Regions from separate parts of the Homo sapiens genome. Here region 1 is linked to region 2. The links are contacts of gene promoters, found by promoter capture Hi-C in blood cells and fetal thymus (Javierre and others, 2016). All regions are on one chromosome and are shown on one strand. The core of a region is centred on a gene start or on the middle of the fragment in contact, and the rest is flanking DNA. Distances in the headings are between cores, read along the strand shown. Region 1 holds the start of DNAJB6 (DnaJ heat shock protein family (Hsp40) member B6). Region 2 holds the start of PAXIP1-AS2 (PAXIP1 antisense RNA 2).

What was found. Contacts are between HindIII fragments. The CHiCAGO score rates a contact against its expected background, and 5 or more counts as called.
Region 1: a fragment that was not itself captured here is called in contact with the fragment with the promoter of PAXIP1-AS2 in region 2 in 1 of 17 cell types (total B cells); the score reaches 9.4 in total B cells.

Annotation. Positions count from the first base shown.
Region 1 is chr7:157,336,807-157,342,855 of GRCh38, forward strand. It overlaps DNAJB6 (DnaJ heat shock protein family (Hsp40) member B6), which reads left to right and starts at 198. Exons shown (of 10, transcript NM_058246.4): 1 at 198-338. RefSeq lists enhancers at 1-148, 149-652, 1,381-1,430, 3,733-4,253 and silencers at 1-70, 261-470, 531-720. The HindIII fragment of the contact is 678 bases long and covers 1,375-2,052 here.
Region 2 is chr7:154,923,923-154,929,766 of GRCh38, forward strand. PAXIP1-AS2 (PAXIP1 antisense RNA 2) reads left to right here and starts at 4,595. Exons shown (of 8, transcript NR_024476.1): 1 at 4,595-4,845; 2 at 5,034-5,102. RefSeq lists enhancers at 4,676-4,735, 4,756-4,855, 5,006-5,225. The HindIII fragment of the contact is 7,419 bases long and covers 3,270-5,844 here.

The DNA of each region.
Region 1 (6,049 bases), core at 464-2,963, 2.4 Mb after region 2:
CGCCCTGGGCTTCCCCGCCCCCTCGCCCCCAGTCTCCTGGGCTCTTCGGGGCGGCGGAAGAGCCGAGAACCTTCGCGAAGGTGGGGCGGGCGCCCCCGAGGTTGGGCCCGCGGTATGGGCAGTGGAAACTGCGCATGCGCGGCGTCAGGGTCGGGCGGAAGTTGACGCCGCCGTGCCGCCGCCGCGTGACGCATTTCCTGTTTGTTGTTGGAGAAAGGAGAGAAAGGAAAGCGCGAGGAGCCGCCGCCACCACCAGCGCAGCAGTCCTGGAGCTGTGAGGAGATTCGGGCCGTCACCCTGCCTCCCCTGCGTCCCGCCACCGGCCGCTTCTGTCCTCGGTGAGGGTCTGTTCCGAGGGTCGGGGGAGGTCGCCTAGGGCCCCGCGCGCGCCCGGCAGACGGCGGACCTCACCCGGCGCCTGGCAACAGCGCGGGGGGTGACCGGGGTCGCCGGCCGGGGAAAGGACTGGACGGGGCGGGGGCCGTGGCCGGGGTTGCGGGGCGAAGGGTGGGCGGGGTCCTCTGGGTCAGGTCTGGGGCCGGGGCCGGGGCTGGGGTCTGGGGCCGCCCGGCCGCGTCCTCCCCGCCCGGCGTCCTTGCCGGAACGCGGCCCAGCCTCCGCGGCGGCGGTTGGGGGTGGGGCCCGGCCTGGGAGCGGCCGGCTGGGGCTCGGCTGGGGCTCGGCGGGGCCGGCAGCGTGGGAGGCGTGGAGCGCCTTCTTTTTCTAAGGCTCCCGCACTCGCGTCTGAAACCAGAAACGGGAGTGGCTTGCGGAGCAGGAATGCCGCAGCCGTGCCGCCAAGTTCGGAGGGAGAAGAAGCAGGTGGGGGACCGCAAAGCCCTGTTTCTAGAACTCCGGACGGATTGTTCAGAAGTTTGTGGAAGAGCAGGCTGCCTTTCTCACTCAGAATGTTTGTCTGCTTTGCTTTGCGTTAAAGAATCTGCACCGTAGTTGATGCAACTGAAGTTTATATAAGAAGTTTACATTAACTCTTACCTAAGGAAGGTCAGTGACACACGCAGTGTAAACTGCAAATCATATATTGGCTCGAGAAAGGTTTTGGCACTAGCGAATTTTTTAAAGGATGGGTTTGCTAGTCAGACGTAAACTTCTGTGCTAACTTCTCACGTAAACGGGGCAGGAAACAGCGCAAGTAGAACGATCGTGCCACCACCGAAGGGGTGCCGCCTGCGAGCTCGGAGGCTTCAGCCTGTTTGGGAAGAGTAGGCTGAGCGGCGCTCTTTGTAGTTTTCAACGTTTTTATTGAGTTGCGAATTTTAGTAAGGATTTGTCGCTACAATTTAAGCCAAATTATTGATTTAGTAGAAAAGTTAGAGTGAAGACCGAAGAAAGGAAACAGACGTTAACCATTAAAGCTTGATTGCTGCTGCTTCGTGTTTAACCGCACTTTTCCAAATAGTGTTGCGTATCAGAACGATTCATGATTTCTGAAAGGAATTATATGCAGCCGCCTTACTCCTCCGCCAGTCCACCCGTCCCGCGTTCTCTCTGGGTTTACTCCAGACTTCCTTTTTTTTTTTTTCCTGAGACGGAGTCTGTTCTGTTGCCCAGGCCAGAGTGCAGTGGCGCGATCTCCACTCACTGCAACTTCCAGCTCCCAGGTTCAAGCGAGTCTCCTGCCTCAGCCTCCTGAGTAGCTGGGGTTACGGGTGCTCGCCACCATGTCCGACTAATTTTTGTATTTTTAGTAGAGACGGGGGTTTCACCGTGTTGGTCAGGCTGGTCTCGAACTTATGACCTAAAGTGATCGCCTGCCTCGGCCTCCCAAAGTGTTGGGATTAGAGGCGCGAGCCACCGCGCCTCGCCGACTCCAGACTTGTTTCCACTCCTGAGGGCCTTAAGCTCCCTTGGAGTTTGTGCTTTCACATTTCTTTCTGCCTTCCGTGATAAAGGGATGAATAGTTTTTATGCACGCTTCAGCGAGCTGCGGGTTTTTGTGGATTACGCAGGCTGTGAAATTTGGGAAGTAAGTTGCCTTAAGTTGGTAGATGTGGAGATTTGACAGGAAGTGGGAGAACAAAGGGGTTGGGAAGCTTTTGGAAAGTGTCCAGGCTTCATCTGTGCTGTGGAAGGTGAGAAAGTTGGGAATTCCAGAGGGCAGAGCTCTTAAAGAATTTGAGATGAGTTCAGCACTCTCTTCAAAACAGTGTTTTAAAATTTATTTTCTTCTGGATATGAAAGTGTTAGGTTTGGGAAGTAATTCTGGCTGTAGGACAGTTTTTCCGGAACACTAGGTGGGGAGTGTTGAATGTTGTGAAGACTAAAATATGCATATGGTATTACAGTGTGATACCTGTTACTGAGTGGCGTACATTAGCTTTCATTTTTAAGCAAGCCCGTAATTCCCTTCTATTAACTCTGTTTTGGACAGTGGTACCCGTCACCCTCATCAGTCTTCAACCTAGATAACCTAAATCCAGGTCTGAGGTGGGGGTGGAATGGTCTGTTTGCACCTTTTTTTTTTTTTTTTTTTTTTTTTTTTTTGAGACGGAGTCTTGCTCTGTCGCCCAGGCCGTAATTAATGCGGTGGCGCGATCTCGGCTCACTGCAAGCTCCACCTCCCGGGGTCACACCATTCTCCTGCCTCAGCCTCCCGAGTAGCTGGGACTTCAAGCTTCCGCCACCACAGCCGGCTAATTTTTTTGTATTTTTTTAGTAGAGACGGGGTTTCACCGTGTTAGCCAGGATGGTCTTGATCTCCTGACCTCGTGATCCGCCTCCTCGGCCTCCCAAAGTGCTGGGATTACAGGCATGAGCCACCGCGCCCGGCCTTTTGTGTGTGTGTGTGTGTGTGTGTGTGTGTGTGTGTGTGTGTGTGTGAGATGGAGTTTAGCTCTTGCCCCTGCTGGAGTATAATGGCACCATCTTGGCTCACTGCAACTTCGCCTCCCAGGTTCAAGCGATTCTCCTGCCTCAGCCTCCCGAGTAGCTGGGATTACAGGCATGCGCCACCACGCCCAGCTAATTTTTTCTATTTTTATTAGAGACGAGGTTTCACTATGTTGTTCAGGCTGGTCTCGAACTCCTGACCTCAGGTGATCCACCCGCCTCGGCTTCGCAAAGTGCTGGATTACAGGTGTGAGCCCGCGCGTCCGGCTGTCACTTTAAAGAGTATTATAAGAGGGCACTTCATAACTTGGGCAGGTATTTTTAGTCATCCTGAACGTGTCGCTGTGGACTGGGTGTCACCGCGGGACCGCACAGACACCTTACTGTCGTCTGCTGTAAAGGTCAGCTTCTATATTGGTTAATGCTTACAGATATCTGTTGAGGAATAAGAGAATGTAATTAGCCTTTGTATTTGTGAGTTGACGTTTTGACGGGATTTTTACTTCTTAGTATTTATTTGCATCGAGGTTACACACTGGATTAACAGCGTTTTTTGGAAACCTTTTTAAAACTTTTTCATTTCCTCAGAAATGATTCTGTTCAAAATGTGGTTTGGTTAAATTTGTGCAGGACCCCACCTGGTGGTGAGAGGCGGGTAACTGCAGGCTCATTAGCGAGTAAGAGTAGGATCAGTGGCAGGATTTAGCAAATGGTGTAGTTCAAGGATGAATAGAATTTGAGAATATCAAACTCAAAAAAATGAGGTTAATGAGAAGAAGAGCAAAGTTGGTGAAAACAAGAATATGTTAGAAACGATGATGTAGGAATGGAAAAACGACAACGCCTACCTGCAGAAAAGTCAACTAGTAAAAATGTGATTTTTTTTTTTGTATTGATATTAATGAGGTGTTTTGTCAAACAAAACCCTTTATGTTTTTGTATGGACATAAATCACTGTTGACCTGTTTCATGTTCCTGGAGATATCCTACTTGAGAAGGAATATTGATTGATGATTAGTTGACTGACTGATTTACTTGAGATGGAGTCCTTGCTCTGTGTCCCAGGCTGGAGTGCAGTGGCGCGGTCTTGGCTCACTGCACTCCTGGGTTCAAGCCATTCTCCTGCTTCAGCCTGCCAGGTAGCTGGGATGACAGGCGCGTGTCACCACGCCTGGCTAATTTTTGTATTTTTAGTAGAGACGGTTTCACCATGTTGGTCAGGCTGGTCTCGAACACCTGACCTCAGGTGATCCCCTGCCTCCGCCTCCCAAAGTGCTGGGATTACAGGCGTGACCCACCGCACCTGGCTGTGTGTGTGTGTGTGTGTGTGTGTGTGTGTGTGCGCGCGCGCAGGTGGAATCACCCTGTGTGCCCAGGCTGGTCTCGAACTCCTGGCCTCAAGTGAGTCTTTCATCCCGGCCTGTCAAAGTGCTAGAATTACAAGTGTGAGCCAGGTGCCTGGCCAGATTTTAGATTTTTTTGTTGTTGTTGAGATGGAATCTCATATTGCCCAGGCTGGATGCAGTGGCGCCATCTCGGCTCACTGCAACCTCTGCCGCACGGGTTCAAGCGATTCTCCTGCCTCAGCCTCCCGAGTAGCTGTGATTACAGGCACCTGCCACTGCTCCCGACTGATTTTTGTATTTTTAGTAGAGACGGGGGTTTCACCATCTTGGCCAGGCTGGTCTTGAACTCTTGACCTCGTGATCCACCCGCCTCGGCCTCCCAAAGTGGTGGGATCACAGGTGTGAGCCACTGCGCCAGGCCATATTTTAGAATTCTTAAGCTGTGTTGCAAAATTACGTGTCTTTGGAAGGGTGATTTAGTTTACACTACATATGATTTTTCCCCCTTTGATATTTTTCTACTTACCTTTTGCCACCAAAGGCTTAAATTAAAAGTGTGTTTTATATTTGTGTTGTGCATATATACGTGTGTGCTCTAGTTGGTATGCTTATGAACTGTGTACTAATACTTATTCCTCTCTGCCACCTTGAGATGGCATGTACCACTTGGGTGGGCTTTGAATCTGAAGTTATTTGTGTTTATAGGAATGTCCAGGACACAGAGTGCTTAGAAAGTATTGATTGAATTAGATTCTTTCTAGTTTGTGTATGTCCTGATGACCTTCCTGTGATTAATAATGGAATCCAGAATTCAAGAAAGTTGGAAAAAATAAGTTTCAGCAGCACTGGAGACTGAGTACTTAACCGAGTGTTGCTTTGTTTATTTTAGAGTCTCACACTGTCACCCAGGCTGGAGTGCAGTGTCGCGATCTTGGCTCACCGCAACCTCCACCTCTGGGGTTCAAGCGATTCTCCTGCCTCAGCCTCCCTGGTAGCTGAGATTACAGGCGTTCGCCACTACACCTGGCTAATTGTTGTATATTTAGTAGAGAGTGGGTTTTGCCATGTTGGCCAGACTGGTTTGGAAGCAGGTGATCCACCTGCTTTGGCCTCCCAAAGTGCTGGGATTACAGGTGTGAAGCACCGAGCCTGGCCCTATTTTATTATAATAATAATTTTTTTTGAGACAGGGTCTCACTCTGTCACCCAGACTGGAGTGCAGTGGCGTGATCTCAGCTCACCCCAGCCTCCGCCTCCTAGTGTCAAGTGATTCTCCTACCTCAGGCTCCGGAGTAGCTGGGATTACAGGCACGTGCCACTATCCTGGCTAATTTTTTTTTTTTTTTTTTTTTTTTTTTGAGTTTCACTCTTGTTGCCCAGGCTGGAGTGCAGTGGTGCAATCTCAGCTCACTGCAACCTCTGCCTCCCAGGTTCAAGCGATTCTCCTGCCTCAGCCTCCCGAGTACATGGGATTACAGGCATGCACCACGACACCCAGCTAATTTTGTATTTTTAGTAGAGACAGGGTTTTGCCCTGTCCAACTCCTGACCTCAGGTCATCCGCCTGCCTTGGCCTCCCAAAGTGTTGGGATTACAGGCGTGAGCCAGCGTGCTGGCCTAACTTCTATATTTTTAGTAGAGATAGGGTTTCACCATGTTGGCCAGGCTGGTCTTGAACTTGTGACCTCAATCCACCTTCCTCGACCTTCCAAAGTGCTGGGATTACAGGTGTGAGCCACCAAGCCTGGCCTATTATGATTTTTTAATGAAAGGGAGTTAAGCTTGGAAGTATCTAATAGGTGATGAGTGCTAGTTGAAGAAATGGTCTCTGATCTTGAGTAATGGGGAAATAA
Region 2 (5,844 bases), core at 3,345-5,844:
TTTCTTGTTTAGATACATTTACAGTAGCTCTTTTTACTACCTTATTAGCTAGCTGATTTCCTTTGCTTTCTGGAGTGTTTGATTTAGAATGGCCTGGAATTTTAATTATGGCCAGTGACTTTGGTAATAATATGGCTCCCAACAATTGTGAAATGAGGTGTCCATTTTTTATGGATTGACCAGAAGAGGTGAAAAATCCTCTGTTTCCATAGCATTCCAAAATCATGAGCTACTCTGAAAGCATATTTACTGAATATTAGTAATGAATATTATCAACAATTATTCCTTTCGCCAACTGACAAACCCTGATCAATGCAATTCTGCTTGTTGATGTGAGGTGGCTTCTGGAAGGTAAGCCTTTCTATTTCTTCAGTTGAAGATACTGTTGTGTAACCTGCTCGGTAAGTCCCTGATCCATCCTTTAAATAAGAGCTGCCTGTAACTCAAACAACATCAGCATTAATCAGTGGAGTCTCTTGCAAGTCAGTCCTAGGAAAGAGGAGCCAATCAACTGGGGCTATGTGATTATGCAGTGTTTCATCTGAAAATGAAGGCAGAAGAGTGTCAGGATTTAGGTTACACCTGGAGATGGTGATAGGAGAAGCTGAAAGAAGTAAAACTCATGTGAAGCTCGTCTACTAATTGAATAATGTCCAGTGTGGTGTGAGTTTAGTGATGCTTCCACAGAATGAGGGATAAAAACAGTAAGGGGAGTTCCCACCACAGTTCCTTGGGTCATCTTAATGAACAAGGTGGTTGCTGTTATATCTCTCATGCAAAGAGGCAATCCTTTGGCTACCGGGCCTAACTGTTGGCTGTAATGCCCTACAGGTCTATTTCAGCCTTCATGTTTCTGAGTCAGATTATCTAAAGCATTTCCATCATTTTCATGTACAAACAATGAAAATGTGAGGTTATAATTTACATGCCCCAAAGAAGAGGCATTGGCAAGACCATTCTTAGTCATTTCTAATGTTAGTTGACTTTCTTTTATCCAGTCTAGAGGGTTTAAAGTTCTCTATTAAGAGGGCATATAAGGAAGGTGGGCGCAGTGGCTCATGCCTGTAATCCCAGGACTTTGGGAGGCCAAGATGGGTGGATCAATGAAGGTCGGGAGTTCAAGACTAGCCTGGCCAACATGGTGAAACCCCGTCTCAAGTAAAAATACAAAAATTAGCCAAGTGAGACTCTGTCTTAAAAACAAAAAGGAGGGCATATAAGGATTGGGCTTTTAAATAAAAATTTGGAATCCAATTTCTACAATATCCTGCCAGTCCTAAAATCCCACTCAACCATCTCTTCATTCTTGGTTGTAAAAAGCTGAGATCCTTTCTAGTCTGTCTGAATTAATAAAACATCCTTCCTTGGATATTAGGTGGCCTAAGTATATCACTTGTCTTCGACAAAATTGAAGTTTCTCTTTAGAGACTTTGTTTTCTTAGGGCTGCCTTTTGTAATAAATGTAGCCCATCATTCACAGAACATCTTGTTTGCTCTCCAAGATGGAAGTCATTTATTTACTGGATTAATGTATGCATTTCCAGGAAATTAACATCTGAGAGGCCTATTTTTAATATTTTTGAAAAGTAAGTCAGGCTTTCAGCATATCCTTGGAGGCCTGTGTGACCCAGTGTATTGTCTGTTTTCCCAAGTGAAGGCAAAGAGAAATTGGCTATTTTTGTCTACAAGAATGCTAAAGAATGTACTACATAAGTCTATGACTGTAAGGAATTCCACATTAGAAGGAATGGCTGTGAGTAACATAGGCTTGTGCAGTATAGGGTGCCATGGGATTGCCATGTTGTTTATTGCTCTCAAGTCTTGTACAAACCTCCATTCTCTAACATTTGGTTTTCTTACCAGGAGGATTGGGGTATTACAATGGCTTGTACAAGGAATGAACAGTCATCTTTCTATATAATCTGACATTATAAGCTTTATCCCTCCTAGAGCTTTAGTTCTCAAGGGGTATTGTCTTGTATTTTGAAGATGTTTCCATGGGTATATTTAAATATTTATTGGAGTAGCTGAGATGATAGTTTCTATATCAATGGAGGACACTGACCACAATGGATCAAGTACTGTCTTTAGTACATTTTGTAATTCTTCATTAAGCAATAATTCATTGTCTTTCATGGCAATATGGATTGCAATTGGATTAGATTTTGAAAATTTTATTAAAATATCTGTTGTGTCTCAAAGTTGAGTTTTATAATCTAATTTTAAATATATTTCCTTCCTTTGAGAGAAAGAAATGTGGGTATCACATAATTCTAAGCAGTTTCTTCCTGTTGAATGGATGGGGTCTGATGGAACAAAGAGGAGGGCATGAGTTCCTTGTAACGAACACTGTTGAAAGGTTACAGGCTGAGATTGGTATGCCAATACAGGAGGATTGTGATGCCCACCATTTGAATTCTTTGTTTACTGCAAGGAATGGGACCTTGTACCAAGATGGGATTAATTCCAGATAATGTGGCTCCAGTGTCAATAAGTGCTTGTGTTAGTTCTCCATTTATAATAATTTTTATTTCTCCCAGTGTTAGTAAGGAGGAAATGAAAGGCCCCTTTAAGTTCCTTGGAGCACCCCTGTTTTCTTTTCTGCCTCCACTGGTTAACATTCTTTCCTTTTTCATTTTTGGCAACTCTTTTGAAAGTAATCATGCTTTTTGCAAAAATTGCAAAGTGGAAGGTTAGGTCCATTAGGGAGTTTCTAGGGGTATTGTGAAGGCCAAAATTGTGTGAATAGTTGTTTTAATTGTAAATTCATAATTGTATTAGCCTCGCTCTTTTGTTTGGCTTCCCTCTCTCTTTCTTCTTCAGTTAAGGTATCAGATAACCGGTCAATGAGACTGACCAAATCATGAGTATCAGAAGTGGCCCAACTTTGTCTTTTCATTGTTAGTTCCAATTCATCTAACTCATTTGTTAAACTGGAGTCGAGTATCATTTCGATGATTAGCACAGCTTTCTTCGGATAAAACTAAATATTCTTTAAAATTTTTTCCACAGCCCTCAAAGTATATTACTGACTCATCTGAATTTTGTTGATATTGTATTTTGTTCCAGTTGACTACTCTGAAAAACTGAGGAGATAGCCTGATGCAAAGCCTTTGCTGTTCTTCAAGCCTGTCTATGGTCCTCTTCTGAACATTTATGAAGATCCCTAACAGATTTCTCCAGTGAGCTTTGTCTAGCCAGCCTTTAGCTTTAATTTTTGCTACTAACATGTGAATCTGTTGCTAGAAGTCAGAATAACTAGGGTCATAAGCTTGGATATTTAATTCAAATTTCCTAGCAAAACCAATAGGAACCTGGTGAAGATCAAGGAATTCTTTTAACTATGCCTGTAAGTTTGATCATGATTGATAAAGCAGGTTCCCCTCTACCAGATGCTGGATGAAATGGAGCCAAACCAGTGGGAGCAGGAGGAGGGGCAGGAGGAGGAGGAGGAGAAGGTCAATCAGGGCTGGGTAGTTCTGACAAGGAGGCTTAGAGAGACAGGGGAGCAGGGAGAGAAGAAGACATTTCAGTGTTTTTTAAAATTCAGTAATGGTTTTAGAGTGCTTTTTATTTTCTTCCTCTAAGGGAAGAATTCTGTCAAAACCTCTTTTGGATGCTTCTGGGTGCCATTGGAAGTAACTCTCTTAATTATTTTATTTGATTCCATAGCTGGCTTTTTAAAATTGTGCATATAAATAAACTAATCTAGCTATTTCAAAGATAATTCTCTTTGATCATTGTAATTTAGGATCTTCTTAGGTCAAATAAGACCATTTCTCCAACTATCGACAGGAGGTGGCGCCATAAGTCTTGTACATAAACCCCGCTGGAGTTTCCAAAGGTGCATTGCTTAATGAGGGCTTGGTTATAGATGGATAATTGCTCATAATTTGGATTCTCTTTTAAAATGCCCAAAGGCTAAAAGGGAAAAGTGTTTGGGGTCCAGTGTGCTGCTTAGTAGGGATTATTCCTGGAGGTATCACCTACAAGTAGCTTCTTCCCTCTTACCTACCTCAGAGAAACCCAGACATTTCTGGGAGTTCAAGGCACTGGGTGACGAACCCCTTGTGTGTTGTGTGCCCCGGGGGTTAAGCAGCTCTCCCTGTGAGTTCTTCTCTGGGGTTTGTTGTGAGCTTCCACACCCTTGTGTTACCTCCATTGCCTAAGGTGCCTTTCAGCTGGGAGAAAGAGTCCTTTTTGTCTTCAGCTTATCACGTCCTCATTCCAACCTTTTACAAATTTTGGGTGACTCAGGAAGAAACTTTAAATCTCAATGTTAACCAAGATCCAAAGCCTGGCTGGTTTAAAGCCACAAATTTGGCTTAAGCCACAAACATTCACTTTCTCCTTTTACAAAGAAAACTGCTTTCTCTTTAACCAAATGTCAAATGAGAGAAAAGGTTACAAACTTGAGCAAGTAAAAAAATGTCCAATGAGAGAAAAGGTTACAAACTTGAGCAAGTAAAATGTCCAATGAGAGAAAAGGTTACAAAAGAGCAAGTAAGACGAACGAAAACTTAACCTAATAGAAAAGTGAAACCACAAACCTGCCAATAGCAGAATCTTTAGAGAAATGACGCGAAACTCCTGCCTTAAAGCCCTAAATGGCGGCTTCAATATCAGTCCCACTGAGCATGAAATTCATTTACTTAAATAAAATCTGAATCTCAGCCCAAACCTGGGAGATTCAAAACCTGAGAGCGGTCTTACCAAAGACGCCCGTATGTCTGGTGAAGTCAGTTGGATGCAAGCAGTTTGTGCTGGTACCAGGGCCCCAGCTACTGATGAAGTGGCAGGAGTCCACAGAAGCCTACTTCGAAGTTCCCGGGGCTTCCAGGGGAGGTGAGAACACAAGTGATGGGAGAGCCTGGGGAGGGACTGTCTGGTGAGTAAAGGTTGTGCTGCTCTGTGGATGAAATGTCTCTGAGGTCGTAAACATCTCAGAGCCGCCTTCGGGAGAACGGGTGATAGTCATCTGGGCTGATGTCACCTCCAGTGTCCTCTCCTGTGATCTGTGTTAATCCTCCCAGATTGACGAGATTCCTGGGGAGGCGATTCATGACAGCTGAGTTCCTTTTGGAGGATCCGTCTTCAGGCAGGTAAGGGGAGCTCAGAGGAAACCTCTGCCTGCATCCGCTGATTCCCAAGTGCCCTCAGCTCACAGGGATCAGCACTCCCAAGTGCCATGGGGGTGGCATTTCCTGAACTCCTTCAAAGCAATAACAACAGGCTGGGCGTGGTGGCTTACGCCTGTAATCCCAGCACTTTAGGAGGCTGAAGTGTGAGGATTGCTTGAAGCCAGGAGTTCAAGACCAGCCTGGGCAACATAGGGAAACCCTGTCTCTACAAAGAATTAAAAGAAAACTTAGCCAGGAATGGCAGTGCACACATGTGGCCCCGCCTACTCGGGAGACTGAGGTGGGAGGAGTGCTTGAGCCAGGTGGTTGAGGCTGCAGGGAGCTGTGATTGCACCACTGCACTCCAGCCTGGGCAACAGAGTGAGACTCTATCTCAAAACAAACAAACAACAACAACAAAAGTGAAACAATAACAACAACTTTTACAAAACGGACATTTGGGATCTACATGCCACACTCCTAAATGCGTCTCTTAAGCAACAGGTGTCACAGTCTTAAACCTTGTCCTTACCCTCTTCATTCTAGGCACCTGTTTCATTCCAGGTAGGGCTTCCTCCTGGTTTCCTAACACAGCGGGTTGAGATGAACAGCAGAGAAGGACACTGCACACCTCTGCAGGGTCTCCCCTCTGGCCCACCAGCCCTCCCTTCTCCAGCAGTGAAGACCTCACTATGTCATCCAGGCAGGAATAATATAGACAGAA